Linked DNA regions of Homo sapiens: all the other regions are linked to region 1. The links are contacts of gene promoters, found by promoter capture Hi-C in human tissues and cell types (Jung and others, 2019). All regions are on one chromosome and are shown on one strand. The core of a region is centred on a gene start or on the middle of the fragment in contact, and the rest is flanking DNA. Distances in the headings are between cores, read along the strand shown.

Region 1 (5,058 bases), core at 985-3,484:
ATAGGGAAGTGCCCCCACTCTGCCCCAGGGCATGGAGGAGGGAAGGAGAAGAAACAGGGTGGCTGGAAGAGGAGGCAGAGAGCTCAGAGGAGGAAGAGCTCTTGGGAACATTCAGGCCTCTCTCCCTTGTGCAAATGAGATGACTGAGGCCCAGAGAGGGGCAGGAGCCTGCCCAGGATCACAGAGCAAGTCAGGAGTAAAGCCAGGACCAGATCCCCACCCAGAGCACCCCCCCCAACCTCCGCTGCACCTGGCGACATCCACCTGGCATCCCCAGAGAGAGCTCAGAATCCCTTGGCCCAGAGCAGCACCTGCCATGGAGGGGTTACCTCGGACCACACTCTCAACAGCCAAGTCCATGGCACAGCTGACCAGGGCCATGAGCACCCCGAGGGTCATCAGGAAGTACCAGTCCTCGCCCAGGCGGAAGAGCTTCTGCTTCAGCCACTCCAGGCCACCTGGGGCAGGGCATGGGGTCACGGCACAGGGTGGGGCAGGAGGCACAGACAGTCCCATCCTTGGAGGCCTGCTGGGCTTCAGGCAGAGAGGCTGGGGCAGGGGGATGGAGCTTGGTGGTATACTCTGGGGTAGTCCCGAGGGGGCCCTGCCTCACATAAGTGGCCGGGCAGGATTTGTGGGAGGTGACAGTGGTGACACAGTGGGTGCCAGGACTGCTGCCCCTACCAGAAAGCCGTTGACCTGCCGACCCTCCGCATCCCTGCCTGTACTGGGAGGTTCCTGGGGGACAGGGAGTATGGAGGGGGCTGGCAGCTACAGCTTTCACCTGCATCCCCGCAGAGTCCATAGCTTAGAGAGCACCAGGATCTAGCAGACTCCTGCGTGTCCCAGGACCTGTGGCGCCAGGTATCCTCTGGGTCCCCAGCAATGCTCCTGGCCCACTGGCTGCTAGCCCAGCCTGGGAGCTGGCCCTCACTGGCTGTGGGCACCAGCCCCTGGGGTTGCAGTCAGCCTCCTTCTGTGGTCCCTACTTGCTCTGCCCCGTAGCTGAGGGGACAGTCAGGTCTCAAAGTGAACAAAGCACATGGGGCTCCAAGGAAAGGTGCCAAGTGTAGGCTGCCCCAGCCCCTTGCTGTGGCCCCAGCTGTCCCAGCAGCTAACCCCCACGTCCCCTCATTGGCACAGGTAGGTGAGGGAGAGGCCTGGGTGGAAGATGGGCACAGTGACCAGGCCTTGGGCTGTATCTCCCGAAAGGCAGAGGGCAGATGCCCGGCCCATCTGACCCACAGACAGCTGGACAGACAGACCCCTTCCCTCCCTGCCACCCAGGAGACTTTGGGCAGTCATGTCCTGGACAAATGCCAGGAGGAGGGTGGTTCCTGGGCAGGGAGGTGGGGTGGGAGCTGGGCAGGAATGATGTCCTGAGTGGTCCTCCAGGGGGAAGGGAAGAGGACCTGGCTCTCACCTCGGATGCCTCGGCGGATGCGGGGACAGGGGCCCCACAGCTCCTGCAGAGTCACAGGGTTCCCTGAGGAGCCTTCACGCAGCCCCACAAACTCCTCCATCAGGCCCCTGGAGAAGCGGATAGAGGGAGGGACCGCGGTGAGCTGCTGCACGTCCTCGCACTGCCTCTAGGCCCTTCCAGTGCTCTCCCCACCCATGAAGAGGAAAGATTGTGCGTGTGTGTGTGTGTGTGTGTGTATGTGAAGTTATCACACTAGGTCTGTGTGTGCCTTCATCCCTGAGTTTCCGTCACTGAGGGTGTGTGCCTGTGTGTGTCATTGTGTGGGATGGGGGTGGGATTCCTAGGTGTCCCCCTGTGTCCAGCAGCAGACTGGGCACAGGCCGGAGCCCAAGCCCTGCTCAGAGCCCCTTCCCCTTCGGTGGCAGCCGCTCCCACCCTCCTGGGTCACTTGGCGCTTCCACTGCTGGGAGCAGTCTCTGCCCAGGGCTGTGACACTCTCACTGCAGAGTCCCATGGATGGCTCTGACTCTCCCTGTCCACCTATGAGCACCCCTGACCCCAGCTCAGGCCACAGAGGCAGCAAAACCCCAGGCCCAGAAGAAGATCCCACCAGGGCCAAAGTGAGGTGCTGGCTCCTGCCCTTACCACCCCCCCCCCCCCGCCCTGCCTGTCTGGCCCTGGCAGGCCCCAGCATCTTGCAGCGACCCCTCACCTGTCAGTCCTCCTGCTGTGGCTGAGCTGGCCCTCCTCTCACAGAGCCTCCAGCTCCCCTGCACCTGGACAGGTGTGTGTTCCAACAATCAACATCCTCCCCCCTTTCCCGCCTGGGCCCAGGGTTTATGGCGAACACTTAGAATGTCCTTGAAAACCGATCAGAACTGCCCAGGCCGGAGCAGAGCAGAGCAGAGCTGCCAACAGGGAGGGGAACAGGAGCCTCCCCACCCACCATAGCTGCACAGAGGGTGGTGCCCAGCTGTACTCAGGCTCCTGGGTGCTGCTGGACGGGGGCTGGGAAGGGGGAGCTCACGCACACAGCAGGACAGAGAGGGGTCATCTGCCAAGGCTGAGGCTCAGGGTCCAGGGGTCTCAGAGCTGGACATGGAAGGTTTGGAAAAGCACAGAGGGAGAGGGGAGGAGGCTGGGCAGAGAAGGAGAAAGCAGGCCGGCAAAGGTGAGTGGGGCCAGCATGACCACAGCCTCCCTGTGTGCCAGGTAGAGAGTCAGCCTTCCCCTAGATTAATTACCCTGAGTGCCCACGGAAATCCCACGAGGCAGGCAGCGTGATCCCGTTGTAGAGAAATGGTGTCTCAGGGAGGTGGGGCTGCCCGTCTAAGATCACGGAGGCCGAGGCAGCGCCAGGATTCCCAGCCCAGGTTTGCCTGGCTCCAAAGCCCGCAGGCTGTGCCACACGGTCCCATCCTGATGACCCATCTTGTCCAGGGCTGGCGAGGAGGCCGACACCTGGGGCAAGGCAGTGAATTGGGGTCAGGAACTCAGACTTGATCCTGTGTCCAGACCCTCCAGGCTCAGGAAATGCCTCTCAAAGCACACGTCCAAGGGCCAGCGGCTCTGGTGGGGACTTCTGGGTAATTCCACAGAGTTTGTCCCACCCCAACAGAGGATGGCAGCACAGGTGTGAGGGGACATGGCGAGGAACAAGCACGTGCCGTGTGCCTGCAACGTGTCAGAAGCGTCACATCCGCAGCTCAAGTCCTCCTCCCCACACCCTGTGAATGGGGAGAGCCTCGCCATTTTGTAGATGGTCAGAGAGGTGAGTCACTCATCCAAGGTCACACAGCAGAGGCTGAACCCAGCCCCACACTGTGCAGCTCTTCCCCTGCCCAAAGCTCCTCCAGCTCCTGAGGCTGAACCAGGGCAATGGTTTGGGCACAGAACAGAAGAGTTGTGTCTGATGCCACTTTGGGGCAAGATGTTGGGGGCAATTGCCTCCAGTCCTACCCAGACAAAGCCACTCTCTGAATAACATGATGGCCCTTGGATGATTGTTAAAATCTGGGACCCTGGGCCACCCTTTGCCCCTAGATGCCAGGCAAGTCAAATCAAAATTGAAGGTGTGTGTTGTGGGAGGTGGGATGGGGGTTGCCGCTCTGCATGAACCCGAGCCCACCTTCATCTTGGCCACCCTGACCTGTTGACTCTGCACAGCACCAGAACTGGCTGCCCTGTCAACATCCGGATCCCCAGTGTCTGGTCTGGGGCAGCTGCTGGCTACTGTCCCACAGCCGGCACTGCATGTCCACATCCACCCTCACCCCCCAGCCCTGTGTGCCCCAGGAGGCTGAGAAGAGGGCAGCCAGGGGGCGCAGGACCCAATGCAGGTCCCTCCCAAACCCACTGCCTCCACATCAGCCCTAATTTCTCCCCTTCCATATTAGTCGCCTGGCAGCAGTAGCGGGGGCTCAGTAGAGAGACAGCAGGGGAGAACCCAGGGCGGCTCTGTGACCCTAACACCATCACCATCCGGAGCCTCTGTTTTCCTCCTCTGTCAAATGAGCTGAGCCTGAGACCTGGGTCTCTGTCTCATGACAGTGGGGGTCGGGTGCCCAGGACCTGCACAGCCCCCTCGCCTCAGAGCAGCTGAGGACGGGATGGGGGACAGGGCACGCTGAAAGAGACAGGGCAGGTATGGGTGGGAGCGGGGCGGTACAGAGAACCCACATTCAGAGGTCACTGAGTCCCCACACTACTTTGCATCCTGGCAGGTGACATGAAGCAGGGTCCCCTGCCCTGCTTTTATTCCAATGGTTACACCCCCACTGCCAGGTGCCTAGGAGGGGAGGGAGGCTCTGGTTATTCCTGGCTTCCCAGAGGAACTGTGGGGACAGCTGGGGAGCTAGCAGACCCCCCATCTCCCACCCCTTCCCAAGACAGAGGCCTTACCAGCTCACCCCCACAGCCCCTTCCCATGCCTTACCTGGTCCCACTGTCTTCAGTGAGAGGGGAAGGGAGTTTGAAGAGTGAGGAGTGCTGGGGGTTCCTTAGGAACACCAGGCTCCCAGAGTCTGAGGGTGGCTCCAGAAACCCCAAAGGTTCTAGGCAGTCTCTGGCTGGGCCCAGCTCCAGGTGGAGGGGATCTGAGTGTTTCCTCAGTGACCAGGTCCCTTCCCCTTCACTTGGCCACTCCATGCCGGGTGCCTTGGGGTGCCAGCCTAGGTGTACTGGCCTGTGGGCTGAGGACCCACCAAGCACGGGACAGAGGTCGGGGAGGAAGAGACGCCTGCTAAGGTCATCCCGAGAGGCTGGGGCTGACACAGACTTCTGCACATCCAATGAGAAGGGAGCAGAGGAACGCTGGAGGGAAACAGTGGTCATGACAAGGATCTGAAAAGACAGGAGATGCGGAGCCAGGCACAGTGCCTGTAATCCCAGCGCTTTGGGAGGCCCAGGCCAGCAGATCACCTGAGGCCAGGAGCTCGAGACCAGCCTGGCCAACTTGGCGAAGCCCTGTCTCTACCATAAATACAAAAATTAGCTGGGTAAGGTGGCGCACACCTGTAATCCCAGCTACTTGGGAGACTGAGGCAGGAGAATCGCTTGAACCCGGGAGGCAGAGGTTGCAGTGAGCTGAGATCGTGCCACTGTACTCCAGCCTGGGTGTGATTCTGTCTCAAAAA
Region 2 (5,058 bases), core at 691-3,190, 460 kb after region 1:
TAGTGGATGTTGGGGACACCTCATTGGAACGCCTGGCACATAGCGGACACTCAATATTTGTGAGCTGAATGAAAGAAAAACCCGGAGTAAGAACATGATACATTCAGGACAAGCAACATGAAAGAAATAGCAGTTGAATTTGGGAGTCAAGAGAATAACTGAGACCCTTTAAGTGGCATAAGGGAGAAAAAAAGGAAAAAATAACTGAGAGATTGTTGCATTTGTTCCAGAAAATGGCTGGGACCTGCCCCAAGGCCAACACTAAGCACTGATAATTGACCATTAGGAAACTCTGTCCCGACCTGCAGAGTGGAGGCTCCACTCCAGAGTGGAGGCTGGAGTGGTGTGGGGTTTAATGTGCAACCTTTTTTTTTTTTTTTGACAGAGTCTTGCTGTGTTGCCCAGGCTGGAGTGCAGTGGCGCGATCTTGGCTCACTGCAAACTCCACCCTCCCGGGTTCACGTCATTCTCCCGCCTCAGGCTCCCGAGTAGCTGGTACTACAGGTGCCCACCACCACGCCTGGCTAATTTTTTGTATTTTTAGTAGAGATGGGGTTTCACCATGTTAGCCAAGATGGTCTCATCTCCTGACCTCATGATCCGCCCACCTCGGCCTCCCAAAGTGCTGGGATTACAGGTGTGAGCCACCGCGCCTGGCCTAATGTGCAACCTTTGTGTAGAGGTTGCAACGTAAATGCAAATGTGAGCCTTTTCCATTCAATCTCAACATTTAGAGATCAGAAAAAATAATATATATAATACTGCTAAATGGCTCACATAATTCCATTACAAATCACTTCTTTCTTTCCACGTGTGTTTTTCTTTCCCCTTAGAAATAAAGAGGATGTAACAGGTTCTCTGGCACTGTGACCTTCCTTACAGCTTGCCTGTAAGTCCTTTATTTATTTATTTATTTATTTATTTATTTATTTATTTATTTTTGAGACGGAGTCTTGCTCTGTTGCCCAGGCTGGAGTGCAGTGGCCTGATCTCAGCTCACTGCAAGCTCCGCCTCCCGGGTTCATGCCATTCTCCTGCCTCAGCCTCCCAAGTAGCTGGGACTACAGGCACCTGCCACCATGCCCGGCTAAATTTTTGTACTTTTAGTAGAGATGGGGTTTCACCGTGTTAGCCAGGATGGTCTCGATCTCCTGACCTCGTGATCCGCCCGCCTCAGCCTCCCAAAGTGCTGGGATTACAGGCGTGAGCCACCGCCCCTGGCCTCTAGTCCTTTTTTAACAAGGTTATTTAAAAAGACTTTACTGGCCAGGCGCGATGGCTCACGCTTGTAGTCCCAACTACTCGGGAGGCTGAGGTGAGACGATTGCTTGAGCCCAGCAGTTTGAGGCTGCAGTGAGCTATGATTGTGCCACTGCACTCCAGCCTGAGCAACACAGCAAGACCCTGTCTCAAAATAACTAGCTAGCTAGCTAAGTAGCTAACTAACTTTACTGCTTCTTGAGATTCCTATCCCTGGACATTTAAAAATACATTATTTAAAAAAATGCATTTCCTATTTTTCTGGCTTAGAGAAAGATCATTTTCCTTCATATCTTTCTGGCTTTAAAAATATTACTCTGGGGTGGCTGCTGTGGCTCACACCTGTAATCCCAGCACTTTGGGAGGCCAAGGTGGGAGAATCACTTGAGTCCAGAAGTTGGAGACCAGTCTGGGCAACACAGTGAGACCGTCTCTATAAAAACAAACAATTACTCTGAATGGGAGAAGAGGCTGCTGAAGGCCACAGTGGGGAGCAGGGCGCAGACACCCCTGGCACAGTGCCGGCCAGTGGGCACCCCCAGCCTGACTCTATTTGCCAGAGGCTGAAGTCCAGAGGGGTTGAGGGGAGAGCACGGCAGGTCCTGGGGCCCCTCCCCCGCCTTGATCCTAGGGCGCCCCTGACCTTTGAGCCGGCTCGGGTTCCGGCTCTGGCGCGTGCACACTCGCCTCGCCGTTCGGGACCAGCCAGATCGCGGCGGCCTCGCGGGCGGTTTGGTCGGTGAGGTCTTGGCCGCGCGCGGCAATGCTGAGGCTGCTGGCGTCCGGGTGCGCCCGGGGCCCGGGGCCCGGCGTGGGCGCGCGTCCTGCCGCAGGGCTCTTTCATCCGGGGCGCCGCCAGAGCCGCCAGGCTTCCGACGCGCCCCGGAACCAGCCCCCCAGCCCCGAGTTCGTGGCCCGGCCGGTGGGCGTCTGCTCCATGATGCGCCTGCCGGTGCAGACCTCCCCCGAGGGGCTGGACGCTGCCTTCATCGGGGTGCCCCTGGATACTGGGACCTCCAACCGGCCTGGGGCGAGGTAAGGCCGGAAGGACGGGGGCCGGGTACACGTGGAGGGACTGCTTGCTGGCTGTCGGGCATGGAAAGCACCGAGACAGGCGCCCCTGCTGGCCCCGGGTCGAGTTGGAAGCTGGTGGCCGGCTCCAAAATGCCCCTTATGGTTTGAGATGGTTGATTTACCTGGACCCTCAATAAGCAAACCCCAGGGCTCAACATGGGCGTGGCCTCCCACATCTTAGTGTCATCATTGGTCAAGAAGGGATTTTGGCCGGCCCGGTGGCTCATGCCTGTAATCCCAGCACTTTGGGAGGCTGAGGCGGGCGGATCACGAGGTCAGGAGTTCGAGACCATCCTGACCAACATGGTGAAACTCTGTCTCTACAAAGGTACAAAAAAAAGAAAAAAAAAGCCGGGCATGGTGGCGCGGGCCTGTAATCCCAGCTACTCGGGAGGCTGAGGCAGGAGAATCGCTTGAACCCGGGAGACGGAGGTTGCAGTGAGCTGAGATTGCGCCACTGCGCTCCAGCCTGGGCAACAGAGTGAGACTCCGTCTCAAAAAAAGAAAAAAGAAGGGATTCTGGAGCCTGAACCTTCTCTGTGTCCCCATCCTGGGGCCTTGCTGGGATGGCTGCTGTGGATTCCTCCCCTCTCCTCTCCCCAGCTTACAGTGGCAGGTGACATTGCATTTGAGAGCAGAAACTGGCTGCCCCTTCCCCAAATCTGAAGATGTCACCTGACTCAAGAAATGCTCAAATGAAGGCAATTTTCCTAGGATCAAGTCGGAGGAAGCAAAATTCATCTTCCTAGTTATTGAACGTCAGCAATTTCTGATTCAGCTCAGCAACACTATATCTGACCGTACTGATCTGAATTATGAAAGCCAGCACTTATTAAATGTCTCCTAAGTGCAAGGTGCTTTGCATAGATTACCTCATTTAATTTTTACTACAGTGCAAGGTAAATATTTTACAAATTAGGAAACTGAGACTCAGGTAGATCATGAAATTCACTAATGCCATTTAGTACACTTATTTAGTCTCTTCGATACATAGCCTAGATCGGTGATTCTCAAGTGGGGCGGTTTTGCACTCCGGGGACATTTGGCAGTATCTGGAGGCGTTTTGGGTTGTTACACCTTGGAGGAAGGGTGCTACTGGCACCTAGTGAGTACAGGCCGGGATGCTGCTAAGCATTCCATTATGCAATGCCGCGACACGGAATCATCTGGCCCCAAATTGCTGAGGCTGAGAAGCCCTGGCCTAAGCAAAGCCTGAAATCTCTGCAGATGATGGCTGACAGGATGATTCTTCCTTCTGCAGATTCGGACCTCGCCGCATCCGGGAAGAATCAGTGATGCTTGGGACAGTCAATCCTAGCACGGGGGCCCTCCCCTTCCAGTCCCTCATGGTTGCAGACCTAGGCGATGTGAATGTCAATCTTTACAACCTTCAGGACAGCTGCCGGCGAATTCAAGAGGCCTATGAGAAAATTGTAGCAGCTGGCTGTATTCCTCTGACCTTGGGTAATGTCAGTCTGCAAGAGCCAGAGTAGTTCCCTGCACTCAGGGTTTACTTATCCTGTACTCAGGGGCTTGAGTACAGCTACTTCTCCCCTGCAAGCCACTGCAAATGTGCAGACAGTAGGAAAGAGAGCATTGTAATTCATTTATTTTAATCCCTGGGGAGAGAATATTTCACGTGTGTGTGTATGTGTGTGTGTGAGACAGTCTCACTCTGTTACCCAGACTGGAGTGCAGTGGTGCAATCTCGGCACATTGCAACCTCCACTTCCTGGGTTCAAGCAATTCTCCTGCCTCAGCCTCCCAAGTAGCTGGGATTACAGGCGCCCACCACCATGCCTGGCTAATTTTTGTATTTTTGGTAGAGTCGGGGTTTTGCCATGTTGGCCAGGCTGGTCTTGAACTCCTGACCTCAAGTGATCCGCCCACCTTGGCCTCCCAAAGTGCTGGGGTTACAGGCATGAGCCACCGCGCCTGGCCAAGATGATGTTTCTAATGACTTTATTTGCGAGGAGAACTGCAAAGAGGGTGTTTTTGTCCTGCTCAGGGTCTACATCAACCTATAGGGCAGCTTTCCCCTTATCCTCACCCCTGACCCACTCTCACTTTTTCTCTTGTTCACAAATACTTAAAATGACAGGGATCTTTTCCTAAATATCCAAATTCATTTTTGCCAAGTTAGAGAGCCTAGCCTGCATGGCATAGTGGGAGGAGTGTGGTTTCCCGATGGCATGGTTTGAAGTCTCAGCTGCACTTCTCCCTAGCAATGTTGCTGTATACCGTGCTTGATGCTTCACACCCTCACCTGTAAGATGGGAATGATCACAGTAACACCTACTCACTGCATGATGTGAGGGGCATATAATGAAAGTGCACATGAAATGCCCAGCATCAAGCATGGCATATCTTTTTTTTTTTTCTTTTTTTTTGAGACAGAATTTCACTCTTGTTGCCCAGGCTGGAGTGCAATGGCACGATCTCGGCTCACTGCAACCTCCGCCTCCCGGGTTCAAGCAATTCTGTCTCAGCCTCCTGAATAGCTGGGATTATAGGCGCCCGCCAGCATGCCCGGCTAATTTTTATATTTTTAGTAGAGACGGGGTTTCATCATATTGGTCAGGCTGGTCTCGAACTCCTGACCTCAGGTGATCTGCCCACCTCGGCCTTCCAAAGTGTTGGGATTACAGGCGTGAGCCATTGCGCCCGACCTATGCATGGCATATCTGAAGCTTCAATAAATGTTAACTGTTATTATTATCAGAA
Region 3 (5,058 bases), core at 1,279-3,778, 440 kb after region 1:
CAGAGCCCACAGCCACGCCAGCTGCAGTGGTTGCCATCTGGGCCATCAGACCTGGCTGCCGGGGCGCAGCAGCAGAAGAGCCAACTGTAGATGGCGGTGCCGCTGCTGGTGGCTGAGCGACTGGTGCTGGCCTGGGTGCAGCTCTCATCTGAGGGGCCCGGCTGGCCGGAGGGGCCATGCGGGAGGTGTGGCTTCGGCTTCCAGGTATCCTAGGTACGCGACGGCTCGGCCTCCGGACGTGTGACAACCAGCGAAGAGCTAAGTGACTTCTTCCGCCTGGCTAATTTTTGTATCTTTAATAGAGACGGGTTTCACCATGTTGGCCAGGCTGGTCTCGAACCCTGACCTCAGGTGATCCGCCTGGCTCAGCCTTTCAAAGTCCTGGGATTACAGGCATGAGCCACCAGGCCGAAAACATTTATTTCTAACCTTTAGAGCACAAACTCTCTGTCTATACTAATTACATGGGGAGTCACCTTGCTGCGCTCCAAAACGCTCAGTTTCATCACCACATGGTCACCAGCAAAGTTTCGTTTCTTTTAAGTGGCGTGATCTCAGCTCACTGCAACCTCTGCCTCCTGGGTTCAAGCGATTGTCCTGCCTCAGCCTCCAGAGTAGCTGGGATTACAGATGCGCGCCACCACACACGGCTAATTTTTGTACTTTCAGTAGAGATGGGGTTTCGCCTAGTTGGCCAAGCTGGTCTCGAACTCCTGACCTCAAGTGATCCCAAAGCGCTGAGATTACAGGCATGAGCGACCACACGCCCGACCTTCACCCATTATTTGTCAGGAAATTTCTGGCCAGCCTAACATTAGCAGGTGTTGACGTAACTAAAAGCTTCTGTCTTACTTTGAGGAAATGCTCTTGCACAACTGAACTAGCCTCATTGACACAATTCTGCACCGTTTCACTGCTTCACCATAGCCAGCCCAGACAAGTCTCAAGCGCCGGTTTCCTTTCTTTGGTCGCACCAGCCAAAGCCAGGACTTTGTAAAAGGATACGGCGCAAACCCCAGGAATGCCTCGCCTATGCGCTCAGAGCCACAACTGCCTTCGCGAAAAGCTCTGCCAAAGGGCGGTTGCGCCGCATCACGTGCCTGCGGCGTAATCTCCCACTGGGCAGCGGCGCTGGCTCACGTGACACGTGCAGGCCAATGCCTGGCGTCCGCGCATTTGGCTCCTGGTTGCTAGGCGACGCCAACCCGATTCTGGTTGCTGGAGTTTATCCTCCCGAGGTTGCTGTGCGAGTTTCGGACTCAGCTCAAGCGCTTGGATCCCTACAGCACCTGCGAGGGCTTCTCCTGGCTGCCGCTTTCGTTCTGGCGAATGTTCGGGGTGGCAGCCCCCCTTCGAGGCTTGCACGAGGGCGTCCCGGCATCCGCGATCAAGCGGGCCCTGCTGCTTTTGGGGCTGACCCTGCGGCTGGGGTGCTGCGGCGTCGCTCTGGCTATGCCCGGTCCACTCACGGACTCCCTGCTTTGGCCTGCTCAGCTCAGGAGAACCGGGCCCGACTCCATTTCGGGCAGTGGTGGACAGGGAAACTAGTGCCTGCCTGTAGTGGTCCCAGGCATAGAGCTTCCTGCAGCTACCCTGTGGCTTAGTTCACGTTTTGTTGCTTTGACCACCGATGAGAAATGTGCAGTAGGGACCCTGTAGGAGTCTGCTTACCCGAAATGGTTTCTGTCTTGAATAGTTGTTGAGTGAAAGGTAACGTGTTTCGATTAAATATATATGTGTGTGTGTGTGTGTATTCCCAGAAGTGAAAAGACTTAAATATTCTTTTTTTTTTTTTTTTGAAATGGAGTCTCGCTCTGTCGCCCAGGTTGGAGTGCAGTGGCGCGGTCTCGGCTCACTGCAACCTCTGCCTCCCGGGTTCTCTGCCTCAGTCTCCCAGTAGCTGGGATTACAGGCGCCCACCACCACGCCTAGCTAATTTTTTTTTTTTTTTTTTTTTTTTTTTTTTTTTTTTAGTAGAGACGGGGTTTCACCATCTTGGCCAGGCTAGTCTTGAACTCCTGACCTCGTGATCCACCCACCTCGGCCTCCCAAAGTGCTGGAATTACAGGTGTGAGCCACTGCGCCTGGCCTAGGATTTTCAATCTAGAAACGGTCGTGGAGTGTCTGGGACTTGTATGTAGCTCGCTGTTTACTAGAGGGTTTGGTATTTCACGTGTATTTAATTTATATTTGGATTGGATTTTACTTACTTTTCTAATCAGCCTGTGAACTAAAGTGAACAAACAGGTTTCAGTGCCCTTTGTTTTCAGACATAAGGAAACATGACCGGAGAAATTATAGTCATGCATTGTTTAACAGAGATATGAGAAATGCATCTTAGGTGAATCTATCATTGGAATATCATAGAGTTTTTTTGTTTGTTTGTTTTGTTTTTGAGACAGGGTCTTGCTGTGTCGCTCAGGCTGCAGTGCAGTGGTGCCATGACAGCTCGCTGCAACCTCGATCTGCTGTGATACTTCTGCCTCAGCCTCCTGAGTAGCTGGGACTGCAGGCCTGCATCACCATGCCAGACTAATTTTTTAAAATTAAATTATATATTTTTGTATATTTTAATTTTCTTTTTATAGAGAAAGGGTCTTGCTATGTTTCTCAGGCTGGTCTCGAACTCCTGGTCTCAAGCAATCCACCTGCCTCAGCCCCCCAAAGTGCTGGGATTACAGGCCTGAGCTACCATGTCTAGACCACAGCCGGCTAATTTTAATTTTTTTTGTATAGACAGGGTTTCTCCCTCTGTTGCCCAGTCTGGTCTCCAACTTCTGGGCTCAAGCAGTCTTCCTGCCTTGACCTTCTAAAGTGTTGGAATTACAGGCATGAGCCACTGAGTCCTGCCCATAGAGTGTACTTACGCAAACCTAGATAGTATAGCCTACTGCACACCTAGGCTATATGATACAGCCTACTGCTCCTACGCTACAAATCTCTACAGCATGTTACTGTACTGTATACTGTAGGCAATTGTAACACAATGGTTGGTATTTTTGTATCTAAACATAGAAAGGGTACACTAAAAATGGTACAATAAAAATACAATATTGTAATCTGATGGAACCACTGTCTTATATGCAGTCTGTTGTTGACTAAAGATCATGTGACATGTGACTGTATTTGCTCAATGTATTGCATGGAGAGGGCCAGTGCTTCTCAAATGTGTGTAGTAACCACTTAGCAATCTTTTGTTTTTTTAAGACGGAGTCTCACTCTGTCACCCACGCTGGAGTGCAGTGGTGCGATCTTGGCTCACTGCAACCTCTGCCCCCCGGGTTCAAGCAATTCTCCTGCCTCAGCCTCCTGAGTAGCTGGGATTTCAGGCGCACACCACCACGCCCGGCTAATTTTTGTATTTTTAGTAGAGACGGGGTTTCACCACCTTGGCCAGGCTGGTCTTGAACTCCTGACCTCGTGATCCACCCCCCTCGGCCTCCCATAGTGCTGGGATTACAGGCGTGAGCCACCGCGCCCGGCCAGGAACCTTGTTAAACTGTATATTCTGATTCATTAGGTCTGGAGCAGGTCCTGAGAATTTCTGCAGTTCTGACAAGCTCCCAGGTGTATATGATTCTGCTGGTGTGATGCACGCCTCAAATAGCAGTAGCCCTAAGTGACACGGTTAATAGCACAATTGCCTCCTTTCCATATCTGATTCTTATGCCCAAACAACAATTTCTTAATATTTATGAAATTTCAGTTACATATGAAGAGAAAGTCATAGGATGGAAATGACAAATAGCGTTGCCAAGATAGAATTTTTATTAAGGATTCATTTTGCTTATTTTATTACTTGAAAATCTGAGAATTCACAATATTGGAAATAATGGGCTTAAAAATATCAAGCTGGCTGGGTGTGGTAGCTCGAGCCTGTAATCCCAGCACTTGGGAGGCCGAGGCGGGGGGATCACCTGAGGTCAGCAGTTTGAGACCAGCCTGGCCAACATGGTGAAACCCCATCTCTACTAAAAATACAAAAATTAGCCAGGCATGGTGGTGGGCGCCTGTAATCCCAACTTCTCGGGAGGCTGAGGCAGGAGAATTGCTTGAACCCACGAGGCGGGGTTTGCAGTGAGCCAAGATGGCACCACTGCACTCCAGCTTGGGCCACAAGAGCAAAACTCCATCTCGAAAAAAAAAAAAGTATCCAGCGACACGGTAGCTCACGCCTGTAATCCCAGCACTTTGGCTGGTCAAGGCAGGTGGATCACGAGGTCAGGAGTTCAAGAACAGCCTGGCCAAGATGGTGAAACCCCATCTCTAATAAAAACGACAAAAATTAGCTGGGCACAGTGGCAGGCACCTGTAATCCTAGCTACTCGGGAGGCTGAGGCAGGAGAATCGCATGAACCTGGGCGGCAGATGTTGCAGTGAGCCGAGATTGCGCCACTGAACTCCAGCCTGGGCGACAGAGAGACTCCATCTCAAAAGAAAAAAAAAAAGTATTAAGCTTTTTGTTGTTAGAAAGTCTTTAACTGCTGGGCGTTGTGGCTCACGCCGGTAATCCCAGCACTTTGGGAGGCCAAGGCAGGCGAATCACCTGAGGTCGGAAGTTCAAGACCAGCCTGACCAACATGGAGAAACCCCATCTCTACTAAAATTACAAAATGAGCTGGGCGTGGAGGCACATGCCTGTAATCCCAGCTACTCGGGAGGCTGAGGCAGGAGAATCACTTGAATCCCGGAGGTGGAGGTTGCAGTGAGCGGACATCATGCCACTGCACTCCAGCCTGGACAACAGAGTGAGACTGTGTCTCAAAAAAAAAAAAAAAAAAAAAAGATTTGTTAGGCAGGACCAGAGCAATGCCAACTCTAGGGCTAATTATTCCCCTGAGGCAAGACCTTCATAAGTACTCTTTCCAATGCCCCACACATTACGAGTTTTTCCAATCTGGATCATAGGAGTAGGCACTATTCCTTCTAATCCAGGGGTCCCAGTCTCCAGGCCGCGGACTAGTACCAGTTGGTGGTCTGTTAAGAGCCGGGCCGCATAGCAGGAGGTGAGTGGCAGGCGAGCGAGCATTACTGCCTGAGTTCTGTCTCCAGTCAGAT

What was found. The method cuts DNA at HindIII sites, captures the fragments that hold promoters and counts their contacts. A contact is called where the count stands out against the background at its distance.
Region 2: a contact is called between the fragment with the promoter of AGMAT here and the fragment with the promoter of CLCNKB in region 1, in 1 of the 25 tissues and cell types used here (spleen).
Region 3: a contact is called between a fragment that was not itself captured here and the fragment with the promoter of CLCNKB in region 1, in 1 of the 25 tissues and cell types used here (spleen).

What each region holds. Positions count from the first base shown.
Region 1 is chr1:16,040,958-16,046,015 of GRCh38, reverse strand. CLCNKB (chloride voltage-gated channel Kb) reads right to left here and starts at 2,234. Exons shown (of 20, transcript NM_000085.5): 1 at 2,136-2,234; 2 at 1,424-1,530; 3 at 330-458. The coding sequence starts at 1,523. The HindIII fragment of the contact is 23,589 bases long and covers 1-5,058 here.
Region 2 is chr1:15,581,933-15,586,990 of GRCh38, reverse strand. It overlaps AGMAT (agmatinase (putative)), which reads left to right and starts at 1,940. Exons shown (of 7, transcript NM_024758.5): 1 at 1,940-2,295; 2 at 3,596-3,798. The coding sequence starts at 2,024. RefSeq lists a silencer at 1,958-2,287 and an enhancer at 2,398-2,447. The HindIII fragment of the contact is 10,612 bases long and covers 1-5,058 here.
Region 3 is chr1:15,599,741-15,604,798 of GRCh38, reverse strand. LOC124903854 (a long non-coding RNA gene) reads left to right here and starts at 1,256. Exons shown (of 3, transcript XR_007065483.1): 1 at 1,256-1,710. It also overlaps the pseudogene CHCHD2P6. The HindIII fragment of the contact is 5,748 bases long and covers 1-5,058 here.